3 separate regions of the Homo sapiens genome follow, and regions 2 and 3 are each linked to region 1. Evidence: promoter capture Hi-C in 16 types of primary human blood cells and fetal thymus (Javierre and others, 2016). All regions are on one chromosome and are shown on one strand. Each heading gives the region's core, a stretch centred on a gene start or on the middle of the fragment in contact. The rest is flanking DNA. Distances are from core to core; before and after follow the strand shown. Region 1 overlaps ZNF772 (zinc finger protein 772). Region 2 holds the start of ZNF587 (zinc finger protein 587). Region 3 holds the start of C19orf18 (chromosome 19 open reading frame 18).

The links. The method cuts DNA at HindIII sites, captures the fragments that hold promoters and counts their contacts. A CHiCAGO score of 5 or more calls a contact.
Region 2: the fragment with the promoter of ZNF587 here is called in contact with a fragment that was not itself captured in region 1 in 3 of 17 cell types (naive CD4 T cells, non-activated CD4 T cells and total CD8 T cells); the score reaches 6.9 in naive CD4 T cells.
Region 3: a contact is called between the fragment with the promoter of C19orf18 here and a fragment that was not itself captured in region 1, in 3 of 17 cell types (M2 macrophages, fetal thymus and erythroblasts). The highest score is 6.7, in M2 macrophages.

The regions. Positions count from the first base shown.
Region 1 is chr19:57,470,541-57,475,606 of GRCh38, forward strand. It overlaps ZNF772 (zinc finger protein 772), which reads right to left. Exons shown (of 4, transcript NM_001144068.2): 4 at 1-3,881. The coding sequence ends at 2,734. Among named protein-coding and RNA genes, the nearest start is that of ZNF772, 4.5 kb to the right of the region's middle. The HindIII fragment of the contact is 6,834 bases long and covers 1-5,066 here.
Region 2 is chr19:57,847,822-57,852,412 of GRCh38, forward strand. ZNF587 (zinc finger protein 587) reads left to right here and starts at 2,038. Exons shown (of 3, transcript NM_032828.4): 1 at 2,038-2,250. The coding sequence starts at 2,218. It overlaps LOC124904782 (a long non-coding RNA gene), which reads right to left. Exons shown (of 2, transcript XR_007067358.1): 2 at 2,494-2,740. RefSeq lists enhancers at 1,636-1,745, 1,816-1,875, 2,046-2,285, 2,336-2,425, 2,480-3,679. The HindIII fragment of the contact is 27,837 bases long and covers 1-4,591 here.
Region 3 is chr19:57,972,902-57,978,041 of GRCh38, forward strand. C19orf18 (chromosome 19 open reading frame 18) reads right to left here and starts at 1,633. Exons shown (of 6, transcript NM_152474.5): 1 at 1,411-1,633; 2 at 1,198-1,302. The coding sequence starts at 1,531. It overlaps ZNF606 (zinc finger protein 606), which reads right to left. Exons shown (of 7, transcript NM_001348022.3): 7 at 4,175-5,140. The HindIII fragment of the contact is 7,599 bases long and covers 1-5,140 here.

The DNA.
Region 1 (5,066 bases), core at 2,014-4,513:
GAAGGCATTAGTAAAACTCAAAATGGAAAAGAAAAATCCCAAAATATCAGAAAACAGAAAATTCAATAATACCAAGTACTTTAAGATCAATAAAATTGTAAAATTGATAAATCTCTACCCAAACCAATCAAGGTTAAAAGAAAAATATAGACATTACCAGTATCAGGAATAGAAGAGGTTGCACCACTACAAATTCTACAAGTATGAAAATAATATTTTGAAAAATTTGAGTACTTAAATAAAACAGAAAAACTCCTTGAAAGACACAAACCATCAAAGCTCACTCTAGAGATAGATGGATGGATGGAGTGACAAACAGATGGACGGACAGACAGATGTATATATAACTAGTATAGCCCTCCATCTACCATGGAAATCAAACTTGTAGTTAGATGCTGTCCTACAAAACACACTTCAGGGCCAGAGTGACAGACAGACAACACACACACAGACAGATGTACATATAACTTGTACAGCCCTCTATCTACCACAGAAATCAAACTTATAGTTAGAAACTTTCCTACAAAACAAACTCCAGGCCCAGACAGCTTCCTTGGTGAATTCTACCAAACATTTAAGGAAGAAATAATACCAATTATTCACAAACTCTTCCAGAGAGCTGAAGAGCAGGAATACTTCCCAACTTACTCTATAAAGCTGGCATTATGCTGATACCAAAGCCAAACCTGGGCAAGATATAAAATTACAAAGAAAAAAAAGCAAGCAAGCAAGAAAGAAAGTTAGGGACAAATATCACTCGTGAACATTGGTGCAAAACTTGTTACAAAAAAACAAAACAAAACAAAACAAAATAGCAAATCAAATTCAACAATATACTAAATGACTAATACATCATGACCAAATGGGAATTATTACAGAAATGCAAGGTTGGCTTAACATTTAAAAAAATCAGTCAATGTAATTCATATTAAACAACTAAAACAGAAAAAGAAAAAAACCATATAGGATTATGGTCACCAGAGTCCAAGAAAACGCCCCACAAATCCCTATTTTCACCTTTGTGTAGTTCTCTTCCACTTTTAACCAGGATTAGCTAGGGTTACTTATGAAATATAGCAGAAATGACGGCTCATCACTTTCAGTTTAAGGTAATGACAGATACTGTGGCTTTGTTCTTGTGTGAGTTCTCTCCTGGATCACTTGCTTTGAAACTATTTCTCTACAATGGAACACTCTTAGCAAAGTACAAATGAAAAGAAATGAACTATGAAACACAGAACACCACCATGAGCCTTAATTTCAGAGTTTAAGAAGCCAAAAACATTAGAATACATATTAAATTACTCTATCTCTGTAGAATTCTAGGAAATACAAACAAATCTACAGTGACAACGGATCAATAGTTGCCTGGGGATGGGTGAAGGAAAGGGAGAAAATATAAAAGGAATCAGGAAACTTTTGGTTTGAGAAGTGCCAACATGTATCAAAACTTATCAAATGGTACACTATAAATATGTGCAGTTTATTGCAAAAATGTTTAGACTGACTTCTGGACAGTAACCTTAGCCATAAGAGACACAGGTATGGAAATATTTCTGTAAACCCTCATAATGGAGCCAGAGTAATGGAAACACATGTGGATGTACCTTTAGAAGGGTCATATTCCCTATAGTTTGCTGCAGTTTTCTCATTCCTTTATTAATCTGGGTTTCTGCACCAACTATGATTCCTACCTGGGCCTTCTGGAGGACAGCCAATATCAACTGCCTACTGAAAAATAGACTTCAGAGATCTTGACATGTCCACTGAGTTCAAATTCTCCTCAAGAAGCCTTGGGAATATGAAGTATCTTCTGGGAACAAGGGACGTAATTCATGTTGCTCCCAGACACATTAGAGATTATCACAACAAATGCCCACTGCTTAGGGTGACCTCAATTACACAAAAAATCTTAACATATAGACCAAAAGATTAGGCCTACAAAGACTGGCATTCTTTCCTAGGAGAGCTGAAGCAGTCAAGTAAGTTAGCTTGACACTAGCATAAGAGCTAGTCTTTGCCATCCTACTATCACTTCAGAGATACAGATAGTTGGAGCTCTCACAAAAGCTGTTCTTCCCTTCATACTGGCTTAGCTCAATTCTGTTCTCAACCCAACCCACAAAGCGAACAGAATCCTCAAGATTTCAGATAGTCTAAAAATTAAGGCATTTGTTGCAAAACCAGAATATGAGGCAGCCAATTTCAGGTCAGGTGTCTTGAAGGCTAGAAAAATTCGTCCCAAGTGCCATGTGAGATCAACTATATCCATGAAGGGAAACCTCTGCCAGTGGTCAGCAGAACAAAGCTCCCATTTTTCTGGCTAAAACTGGGTCATGCTCATGCTTAAACCAGTAGTGGGGCAGAAAAAAAGTGAGAATCCTTGATGGCCTCAGGCTACTGATGATTCCCTCCAGGGAAGGGAATAGTACAGAGGTCTGTCTTTTGAAACACATTGGGGTTACTTTGGCACAAGGCAGGACTCTTCCAGCACAAAGACAGATGGCTTCTAACAGGCACTGCCTTGACGAAATTCCAGCAAGAGTCTAGAAAATTCAGCATAGCTCCAGAAGGCTTCCCATATAGCTGGCACTCGGAAGAACCTCCCCAGGGTGAGTGTTTGAGTGTATAAAGTTCTACTTCTGGCTGTCGGCTACACATAAAGGCTATGCTTGGAGCTTCTCTCTGATGTCAGTTATTATGTTGAACAAGGAAACGGAATTATCTCCCATCCTAAGGCCTTTCTCCAGTGTGAATTTTCCAGTGGCGGATGAGGGAAGCCCTCTGCCTGAAGGCCTTCCCACATTCACTGCACTTATATGGCCTTTCTCCAGTGTGAATTCTATGATGCTGAACAAGTACATGTTTGTGGCTAAAGGCTTTTCCACATTCACTGCACACATAAGGCTTTTCACCATTATGAACTCTTTGATGTGCAATAAGGTCAGAGCTTTGGCTAAAGAACTTCCCACATGCGATGCACTCATAAGGCCTTGCTCCAGTATGAACACTCCAATGTTTAATGAGTCTGTATTTGTGACCAAAGTATTTTCCACATTCGCTGCACTCATATGGCCTTTCTCCAGTATGGATACTCTCATGCTGAACAAGTGTAGATTTGTGACTATAGGCTTTCCCACATTCACTGCACTTGTAAGGCCTTGCTCCAGTGTGTACTCTTTGATGTACAATAAGGTTAGAGCTATGATTAAAAACTTTCCCACATATGCCACACTCATAAGGCATTTCTCCAGTGTGGATTCTCTGGTGCTGAGCAAGTATGGGTTTGCGGCTAAAGGTTTTCCCACATTCACCGCACTCATAAGGCCTTTCTCCAGTGTGGACTCTCTGGTGTTGAACAAGTGAGTCTTTGCGGCTGAAGGTTTTCCCACATTCACTGCATTTGTAATGCCTTTTTCCACAGTGAGAGGCCTCCTCACACTTGGTGTTGCTGTGTGGCTTCCACTCATTGTGAGGGGCATGGTGCTCGAAAATGCTTGAGCTGGCTAGGAAGTCCTTACAAGCCTCCCCTGTCACAAAAGACATCTCCATTGATTGCACAGCACAGTTGTTCAGAAGAAAGGGCCTGCTCTTATCACTTCTAAAGGGTTTCTCTCCACTGTGCTGCTTCTGGTGCTGGTGAAGGTTTGCACTGAAGCAGAACTGTTTCCCACACAGCACACACATGTATGGTTTCTGCCCTGGGTGTGTTTCCTGGTGCTCAGCCAAGTGCAAAATGTCTTTTAAGACCAGGCCACATGTCCCACAGGGGTAAGCCTTCTGAGTAGAAGGACCTCCCTTGGGAATCCTGATCTGTGACATTCCTATAGAAAAGCTCTGCTCAAAAGGTATCTCTTCATCCTCCATTCCATGCCAACAACCTGAAAGCAGAGAAATGCTGGTGAAGTACAAATTGACACAGGTGGAAGAGGGGAAGCCTCACTACAAATATGTGTCTAACACAACTAAGACCAAGGTCATAGGACTGTTGTTAGGACAAGGGTCCAAACTCAAGTTCAGCAAATGTGTACTATACGGTAGTTGGCATCTAAATGTCATAGAATGGAGAAGGCCTCAACTGGGAGAGGACAAAGATGTGGGGTACAGCACAAAAAAGAGGCAGGTCTCAAAGTCATTCACAATCAGATTTTCTTGGCTGCTGGGGACAGGTGAGAGTTGTGCAGAAGGTTATGGTCCATACCAAAGAAAATCAAATTGCTACTCAGTAGTTGGTGTTTAAGGACTATTTGGGCTACACATCTCATGAAACACTAAGTACAGGCCAATGCTGGAAGGCACTGTAGAACAAGCCATGGAGAGGAACAGGTGAGACATGAAGGCAGAGGTATGGAACATCCAGAGGCCAAAGGCCAGAGTATGAAAGGCCAGTGGCCTTAGCACTAATACAACTGTAGGCACAAAGAGGCTATGGAATGATATGAACCCAGCCCTGACATCACACCTTTCCCCAGCTCCTACTCACCAGGGTCACTCCCACCTGGAGTCTCTGTGGCAACAGCTAGGGTCATGTCCACCCAGTCAGGTACCCAGGGCTCACTACCCATCACCAGTGAGGCAACTATGTGGGACATGAAAGATGTATGTCCTAAGGGAAAGATAGAACAGCACTGGTCTGGGTAACCCATATAGAAAACTAAATATTATTAAAATAATCTCAGAGTAAGGTCTTGCAGGAATAGTGCAGTGGTCCTAGCAAGTAGCGACCATAATGGTCCCTACAATTCCTGACATAGGCAGGCCACAGGAAATGTCAGCTAAAGGAAGAGCGCAGAATCCCAGGCACAGAGGTGTCATGGATACAGACAGAGGAATTCAGACAGGGAAAGGACAAGATGGATATGACCCACTGGGCTGACAATACAATGCATAACTCCTGAATCCATGCCTGCAAGGCTCTGAGACAGCAAGCGCTGGGAATGCTCAAAAGGAGAAAGTAGGAGTGCAAACAGCCCAAGCCCAGCACTCACAGAACCTACTCCAGGCACTAAGAAATGAGACAGTGTCCACGGCTCTGATGTAGGAAGGACAAAGATGCCCTGAAAAAA
Region 2 (4,591 bases), core at 788-3,287, 380 kb after region 1:
TTCCTTTATGAAGCCAGGAACCCTCCTGGATTGAGCCCCAATTTTGGGATTTGCTAGCATCACTAGAGCAATTTTCTGTGGGAACCAGTGGCCAACTGCCAGCTTCACTACCTGCTTCAGGGTGTACCAACATCCGTCTATTTCCCTGTCATTAGATCTTTATTATTATTTTATTTTTTTGAGACGGAGTCTAGCTCTGTCGCCAGGCTGGAGTGCAGTCATGCGATCTCAGCTCATTGCAACCTCTGCCTCCAGAGTTCAGGCGATTCTCCTGCCTCAGCCTCCCGAGTAGCTGGGACTACAGGTGTCTGCCACCATGCCCAGCAATTTTTTTAACATGGGTTTTGCTGTGTTAGCCAGGATGGTCTTGATCTCCTGACTTCATGATCTGTCCACCTCGGCCTCCCAAAGTGCTGGGATTACAGGCGTGAGCAACCGTGCCCGGCTAATTTTTTTATTTTTATTAGAGATGGGGTTTCACCATATTGGTCAGGCTGGTCTCGAACTCCTGACCTCATGATCCACCTGACTCAGCCTCCCAAAGTGTTGGGATTATAGGCATGAGCCACTGCACCCAGCAATTTATTTATTTTTTATTTTTTATTTTTTTTGAGACAGAGTCTCACTCCTGTTGCCCAGGCTGGAGTGCAATGGCATGATCTCGACTCATCGCAACCTCCACCTCCAGGGTTCAAGTAATTCTCCTACCTCAGCCTCCCGAGTAGCTGGAATTGGAGGCATGCAGCACCATGCCTGGAAAATTTTGTACTTTCAGTAGAGACACGGTTTCTCCATGTTGGCCAGGCTGGTCTCGAACTCCCGACCTCAGGTGATCCACCTGCCTTGGCCTCCCAAAGTGCTGGGATTACAGGTGTGAGCCACCATGTCTGGCCTTTATTTTTATTTTTTGTGGGTATATAGTAGTGTATATATTTGTAGATTACATTAGATATTTTGATGTAGCCATGCCATATGTGATAATCACATAGGGTAAATGGGGTCTCAGTCACCTCAACATTTATCCTCTGTATTATAAACAGTCCAGTTATACTCTTTTAGTTATTTTTAAATATATAATTAAATTATTTTGACTATAGCCACCCTGTTATGGTAGCAAATATTAGGTCTTATTCATTTTTGCTCACTGTTTTTTGTACCCATCCTGTCATCATGTCTTATGGAGAATTTTCTTTTGTTCCCAACAAAACAATGAAACTCGCAAAACTGACTGTAATGATTCAGTCTACGTGAATTTAAAGAGCAATCAATACTTAATGTTCTCAGCTCTGAGTGCACACATTGTAAGTCTGAATGATGCCAATGATATGGCCACTTAGATAAGTAAAGTTTGGGAGCATCTCAAATAGTATTTTTATTCTCTGGGTGCAGGATGAGCTTCCTAGAGTCTGATGTGATACCTATTTGATGCTTTTACAAAGAATCAATAATCTTCCTCCTTTGAGGTGTGAGCAGGGCTTTCCAGCAGCCCTCAGAATGTAACATGGTCTGCATTCGGTTTGCTCTTGGAGGATACCACCATTGTTGGCTGAGAGCTCTGGGAAGTACTTTACCCAGAAGGCGCTAGTTGCAAGGCCCAGGATGAGGGATTTCTGGGCATGCTTGTCAGGCCAGGGAGTACTGGGTTGGGACTGAGAAGGCACAAGAGGAGTAGTCATCTCTGCTCCCAAGTGGCAGGTCTGAGGCTCATAGGCACTGGCTGGGGTGATGCCTGCTCCACCCACAGTTGATGGCAGCAGCCACACTGAGGGACCTAGCTCAGGTAAATGCTGTGTATTACAGGCTTCACCCCAGCTAGAGTAATACAGGTAGAGGAACCAATAGGTACAAAGGCTTGGAGGTGCATCTGAGCCATGAACATTTCAGAACCTGGTAACCATGTTGTGTCATGGAAAGTGGGGAACTACATTACCCAGAAAGCTCTGCTTTAAACGACAGCCGGTCAGAGCCAGTGAGCACTCGGAAAGAAGGCATTTCCACGTGTGCACGTAACGTAAGGCCGAGACTTCCGGGGTCTCTAGTAGCGGCTGTGTATCGGCGATGCGGGTGTTTCCCCAGTTTGTGGCCCCTGAGTGCTGGGTGGGACCGCGGTGACTGAACCTAGAAGGTGGAGAGGAATCGTCCTCGGTGCCCAGAGGCGGCTCTGCAGCCCCGTGACGGCGACCACTGCTCCCGGGCCGTGCTTCCCCAAGTAGTCCGATGGCAGCGGCTGTGCCGAGGCGCCCAACTCAGGTAATTGTGGTGCCTTCTGTGCCCTCAGGTCACCCCATCGTCACCCAGGTCCTAAACCAGCGAGGGAGCGGCTCCTGCTCGTGGGTCTGTAGCCGGTACCCGGCGTAGGAACACTGAGGCGCTCACAGGAGGCCTCTCCTTGTAACCGTCCAGTGGGTTCACGTTGCCAGCTGCCTAGACAGAGCCGATTTATGAAGACTGGGGAATTGCGATGGAGAAATAGTAATTCACGCAGAGCCGTCCTGCTGTTCGGGAGACAGGAGTTTTATTATTCAAATCAGTCTCCCTGAGCATTCTGGGATCAGAGTTTTCAAAATTTGGCGGGTAGGGGCTTGGGAAGTGGGGAGTGCTGATCAGTCTGGTTGGAGATGGATTCATAGGGGGTTAAAGTGAGTTTTTCATGCTGTTTTCTGTTCTGGGTGGGATGGCAGAACTGATTGACCCAGATTACCGGTCTGTGTGTTGTCCGCTGATCCATCCAGTGCAGGATCTGCAAAATGCCCCAAGCACTGATCTTAGATATTGGGGAAACCAGCCCCACACCACCCAGCAGATACCCCGAGTCCTGCGGAGACAAAGGAGTTAGAAAGAGACAGAATACGCATTTAAAAGGCGGGTCCAGGTGGCCAGAGCATTGGAGGCTTCCTGGCGGCCCAGAGCTCTTGGGCTCCACCCAGTTTATTGGTTTACAAGCTCTTTGTTCTTATGGCTGATTGGAGGGGGAGGAAGCGATCAGGAAAAGGATTAATCAGTAAAGGAGAACTCGTGAGTCATTCCATAAGATGTAAAGCACTGGCCGTTTCTGTGAATTTCCTTGAACAAAGGCGTGTGTCTAAACTACTTAAGATCTTTAACTTAACTGAAACGGGTGGCTGCGGGTTTCAGGAGGAGCCAAGATGTTTGATTATGCTCCACTGCTTCAAGGGAGTGTGATCTCCCTGAGCAACCCATGGAATGCTGCTGAAGAGTTATGCTCTCGGGGCATAAAGACATGAAGGCAATAAGGAGACTTTTCTCCTCAGAGGCCGCCCATGGCTTCCCATGGGTGTCTCACACAGGGGAGACCAACTCAACTAGCACCCCAGAAACTCACATTAGGTTTTACAATAGTAAGGTTATCTTCAGGAGCAACTTGGGGAGGTTCAGACTCTTGGAGCCAGAAGCTGCATGACCCCTAAACCGTAATTTCTATTCTTGTAGCTAATTTGTTAGTCCTGCAAAGACAGGCTGGTCCCCAGGCAAGAAAGGGGTCTTTTCAGGAAAGGGCTATTATCAATTTTGTTTCAGAGTGAAACCATGAACTGAATTCTTTTCCAAAGTTAATTCAGCCTATGCCCAGGAATGAAAAAAGACGGCTGAAAGGTTGGAAGCAAGATGGAGTCGGTTAGGTCTGATTTCTTTCACTGTCATAATTTCGTCAGTTATAATTTTGCAAAGTCGGTTTCACCTGTTTCTGACACCAGTGGGATGCAGTGGGGAGAGTGACAGGCACAGGTAGGGGTGCAGGCAATGGCCTGCAGATGGACAGAGCTGGAAGGATGGAACCTGGGGTTCACAGGCATCTGTCAGGAACAACGTGTGAGATGGAGCTCTTCCTGGTAGAGCAAGCAGGCCAGGGGCTGTGCATTCATCATGAGGATTCTAGAAGCCATGGAGAGTTTTGAAGAAAGGAGGGACATGATCCAAATCCAGGCTTTTAAGAAGTTTCCCAAAGGCCAATCAAAGGAAGAACATCATAGAGAGAGAGGATGAGGACTTTGGGGCCTTGGGAGGTTGAATCCGTTTTGTAGATCACATAGATGGTAGAGATGACATTTTGCACTGAGAAAAGCAGGTCAGACAACCAGCCTTAGGGTTACCTGGTTCCAGGGACAAGAAAGGGTTCAGGGAGTCCTGAGCTTATCAAATCCTGTGACATGTTTGTAATGTCTGCCTTTCCCCTCAGGCACTCCTGGCTGCAGAAGCACTTAGGGAACCCACACAGGGAAGTGGAGGGTGTTCCATTCCCTCATTGGTCCTGACGCCATCTACAGGTTCTCTAGCTTGTGGTGTCCTGGGACTCTTAAGTGCCATTTTTTTCAGTCCTTTGATCCGAGGACCCTGGAGAATCTCTGAAGCCAGGATACCAAGTCCATGACAGGTTATATGGAGGTATTCCCATTTCTGTCAACCAATGTAAACACCCTTGTAAGATTAACCCAGGATTTGCTACCAGGTTGTGAAATGCTTAGAGATAAAACGGATCAAAGTCAGGAGGTGATATTACCACAGTTCTACCTGGCTACAGGCTTCATCTGGCTGGACCTTGTTGCATAGACTGTGGGTTGAGGGAAGAGGAAGA
Region 3 (5,140 bases), core at 383-2,882, 500 kb after region 1:
CCTGTAATCCCAGCGAGGAAGGCAGATCACGAGGTCAGGAGTTCGAGACCAGCCTGACCAACATGGTGAAACCCCGTCTCTACTGAAAATACAAAAATTAGCTGGGCATGGTGGCACGCGCCTGTAGTCCCAGCTACTCAGGAGGCTGAGGCAGGAGAATTGCTTGAACCCGGCGGTGGAGGTTGTGGTGAGCCGAGATTGCGCCACTGCACTCCAGCTGGGTGACAGAGTGAGACTCCGTCTCAAAAAAAAAAAAAAAAAAAAAAAAAAAAAAAAAAAAAAAAGGATCAGAGAGCCAGGCAGAGAGGCCAGGGAACCAACAATAGTGTCCTTTCCTCGGACACAAATTACATGCAAATGTATCACACAGACAGCATTTCCCTTGCATGGAATGGAGATTATTTACAAGCATCATATATCTCCACAAAGGGTTGCTGAGCTTCAAAGATTGTCGGGGTTGGTTTTGCTGTTATAAGATAAACAAACATCCTCTAGTACTCAAATTAGAAGGGAACCATAGAAAATGCTTATAAAGAATTCTCGGCTGGGCATGGTGGCTCATGCCTGTAATCCCAGCACTTTGAGAGGCCGAGGCGGGCGGATCATGAGGTCAGGAGATCAAGACCATCCTGGCTAACACAGTGAAACCCTGTCTCTACTAAAAATACAAAAAATTAGCTTGGCGTGGTGGCGGGTGCCTGTAGTCCCAGCTACTTGGGAGGCTGAGGCAGGAGAATGGTGTGAACCCAGGAGGTGGAGCTTGCAGTGAGCCGAGATCGCGCCACTGCACTCCAGCCTGGGCGACAGAGCAAGACTCTGTCTCAAAAAAAAAAAAAAGAAAAAAAAGAATTCTGTACACTCACAAACCTTCTGTGTCTAGACTTGCATGCTCTACTGCCAAATGTGCACCAAATTCAAGTCAGACAGGCATACCTGTGTAATCTGGATGGGATCAAGGTTTTTGTGTGCGCTTATTAAAGTGAAATGAAAAAGAGAAGAAAGTGGCAATCCCTAAAGAGAAAGCAGTTAACAGAGAGTGAAGAGCATAAGATCTAATTTCCAAGCAAATGTTTATCTAATTATACTCTATTTTATGGACCTTTCTACCAGCAAGCACACAGTACACATTCACATGGCAGATAAGAGGACTCCAGGCTACGATTCTCACTCCACTGAATGAGGAATTCAATGACTCACCCGTGGATCTCGAGGCAGCCCCTTGAATCCCAGGCAACTGGGTTTTATGAAAGAACACTTTGGGCTCTTTGGTGATGTTTCTGGGTGGTTGTGACCGTTTACTGCCTTGAAAAGAAAACTTTTTGCGGTGAAATGTAATTACCTTCTTTTTATCTCCCCTGAAACAGCTTTTCAATTCTCCCTGAGTCACATAAAACCAGTGGTTGAAGCTACCTGGTAAGCCTGTTATGTTTCCAGTGGGATGGAGTCCATCTGCATACGGCAAGCATAAATGAAGTTGGCATTCCATTAAAAACAAAAACAAAATGAGGAAACCACTCTGAACCTTGTCCATCACTCTCAAATTATCAGTATTTTATCCCGTAGATGAAAGGAAATACTTAGCTACAGTCCAGCATCTGTCCTCTATTTATCTGAGGAATCAAGAAGTTCTACTCCCTTCAGAATGTTTGGGCAGTGACTTGGAGCCACCAGTGTGAGGTCAGTCCTTGCTGTGATAATGGAGTTCCTTCATGGAACCATGCTGACCAATGGGGAGACTACAGTGTAAGAGGGCAGTGCTTGGAGGTGCAGGCATGATGAGACCAGGTCCCTGCCTGCAGTGTGCAGATTAGTGAGGAGGCAGAAAGAAATCAATTACAGTCAGCCCTCCGCATGCATAGTTCCCCATCCGTGATTTCCAACAACCTCACTTGGAAAATGTTCAGGAAAAAAGGAATGGGCACGGTGGCTCACGCCTATGATCCCAACACTTTAGGAGGTCAAGGTGGGCAGATCGCTTGAGGCCAGGAGTTCAAGACCAGCCTGGCCAACACAGTGAAAGCCCATCTCTACTAAAAATACAAAAATTTGCTGGGCGTGGTGGTGCACACCTGTAGTTCAAGCTACTTGGGAGGCTGAGGCATGAGAATCACTTGAACCCAGGAGGTGGAGGTTGCAGTGAGCTGAGATCATGCCACTGCACTCCAGCCTGGGCGACAGAGCAAGACTCTGTCTCAAAAAAATAAAACAACAAACACAAAAACAAAAACTAGCCAGGCATGGTGGCGTGTACCTGTAGTCCCAGATACTCGGGAGGCTGAGGCAGGAAGATCACTTGAGCCCAGAAGGCAGAGGTAGCAGTGAGCCAAAATCGTACCACTGCACAAAGAAAGAAAGAAAAGAAAGTGGAAGGAAAGCAGTCACCCTTAGAAGGGAGGCAATGTGCACAGGGGAGACCCACAGCAGGAAGGTAAAGGGGGACTCCTGATGACTGAAAGTGGGCCCTAGGCTTCAGAGATGGGAGGAATAGAAGACGGGCTCAAAAAAGGCAATGAACTATGTCATGTATGAGGGAGACAGAGGGGACCTGGGAGTGCTGGATGTTAGGGACCACTGAAATCAATACTGTCCAGGCTGTGCATGATAGGTGAGAGGAAGGGAATACTTCCAGGAAGAAGCAGAAGTCTGGGACTTTCTTTTGACTCGTGATGTGACCTGACCAACAGGAGGCCCTTTTTTTTTTTTTTTTTTTTTTTTGAGATGGAGTCTTGCCCTGTCACCCACACTGGAGTGCAGTGGCACAATCTTGGCTCACTGCAACCTCCACCTCCTGGGTTCAAACGATTCTCCTGCCTCAGCCTCTGGAACCGCTGGGATTACAGGCATCTGCCACCACACCCAGCTAATTTTTGTATTTTTAGTAGAGATGGGCTTTCACCATGTTGGCGGCCAGGCCAGTCTCGAACTCCTGATCTCATGATTCACCCACCTTGGCCTCCCAAAGTGCTGGGGTGACAGGAGTGAGCCACTGTGCCCTGCCAGGAGGCCCTTTAAGACATTAAAAAAACTCTTATCTGTTTAAACAGAGATGGGATCTTGCTACGTTGCAAGGCTGGCCTTGAACTCCTCAGCTCAAGCAATCCTCCTGTCCCTCCCAAAATGCTGGCATGAGCCTCGGTGCCCGGCCTAGAAATTTTTTCAAGATAATAATCTTAGTAATAAGGTTATAAGTTACCAGGATGCTTGTGGTATATTGCATATGACTTATGAAATCCTTTGGAATCTCTAAATCAGATAATTTGGATTCACTCTGGCTATTAGAATACAATATCCACATCCTACTGGTAGTATGATTCTGGATATATTATGCTGCTTTCTCCAAGATGAGATAATACTGCTAACTTCATTCTCTCCAAGGGCCTTTGCACAAATCATGTAAAAAAAAAATCCATCAATAACTAACTTGCCCCTGCCACATTTATCAGGTGACCACTAATGTGTCAGGCCTTGAAAGGACTACAATCAAATGTTACACACCTAAGTGAGCCCAAGCTAGAAGAGTCAGAAGGTGAAAATAACAGCCTCCCAATGACATCACTAGGCCATCATTTCTCAACCACTGGGAAGCCATGGGCCCTTTAAAAATTAGATGAGCTTTATGAGCCCAAGTTCCACTCAATACCCTTGAAGCCTATCCAGGAAGGATCCTTGGCCCCCAGTTTTAGAAATACTTATGAACTGGAGAGAAGCCACCCAAGTCTTCTGATCCATCTTTCCCCTTTTCCCCTGTGAACACTGAGACTTCATTACTCTAGGTGGACTGGCTAGCTCTCTTCCCTTCTGAATCCTGCTCCTTCAAGTAAGCCTTTCATCTGCAGAAGATTTCAAAAAAATAAAAGACCGAATTCAAGGTAAACCTTGGGTAATGGTGCTCTGAAGTGCAGTGGTGTCTAGTTATGGAAAGGAACAAACACCCCTGCCCTCTGCTCTGTAAGTGGCATTCTAAACCCACCAAGGGACTTGCCCAGTCCTCCAGCAAGTCCTCCAGGCCCTGCTGCCCTGTTATCCTTGGGGTTGCAGGCAGCAAAGTTCTAGGGAACTCAGGTCCCAGAAAATGCAGTGATTCTGAATGTCCAACACAGACTTCATATTCCAAAGGGATACTAGTTCTCATGTTACTATAAATCCTTCGAGACAGAGAAACCAGGTAACTTTATTTCTCATTGTTTAGGATTTTCTTTTTATTATCAAATCTCTGCTATAGAAACACTGAAGAAAATGGGAAAAAAAATCACTGGAGAGGCAGCATAAAATGGTGGCTGAAAACAAGAACTCTGGAGCCAATCTCAGCTCTACTCCCTTACTAGTTGTGCCCCTTAGGTAGGATCCTTCAACATCTCTGCTTCAGCTTAGCCATTTGTAAAACTGGGGTAACAGTACCTATCTCAGAGTAAAGGGGACTAAACAAGTTAACACTTGGAAAGCATTTAAAAGAAAGCCCAGCACATAAGTGTTATATGTATTTGTAAAACTTTTTAAAAATCTCAACTGGGTTAACTTTTCCATGGATCTTTCAGGTCCTTACCCATATACATTTTTTTAGATGTGTTACAGTAAGTATGTATATACAATTCTGTATCCTTTTTATTCCTTCATGTTATGTATACTGATGCAGTGTCCATAATTATAATTTATAGTGATTGCCTAAAACAAATTACAAACTAATTGCCCAACAATGCAGTGATGAGTAACAATGGACGCTGACACACTGGGCTAAGGATCACTTTCTGTCCAGCAACATCAGTCTCACACTCCTAGGCAATAACTTTTCTACCGTTAGTCATCTCATTCATTAATTTTCTCTAAGGAGGTTAATCAACAGTAAATACCCCATTCAATACTATTATTTTTCTTACATTCAGATTTAGCACTTCATATTCTACTCCTGGGCACCCAGACCCTCCCCTTATAACAACAAAATCTGTATTTCTACAATTATGCACAAAATGTTATTGTAGAGTTTTCCATCCAGTACTCCAGCTTGATGCAAAACAGTGTATTTCCAGTCAAAAACTTTTCTCTGCATAAGGTTTTTCCCTTAGCAATTCACACCAATCTACAATTGGTGAGAGCTCTTGCTAAAAGATGCCTCATTCCCCACAGTCATGGTCCTCAAGTATGA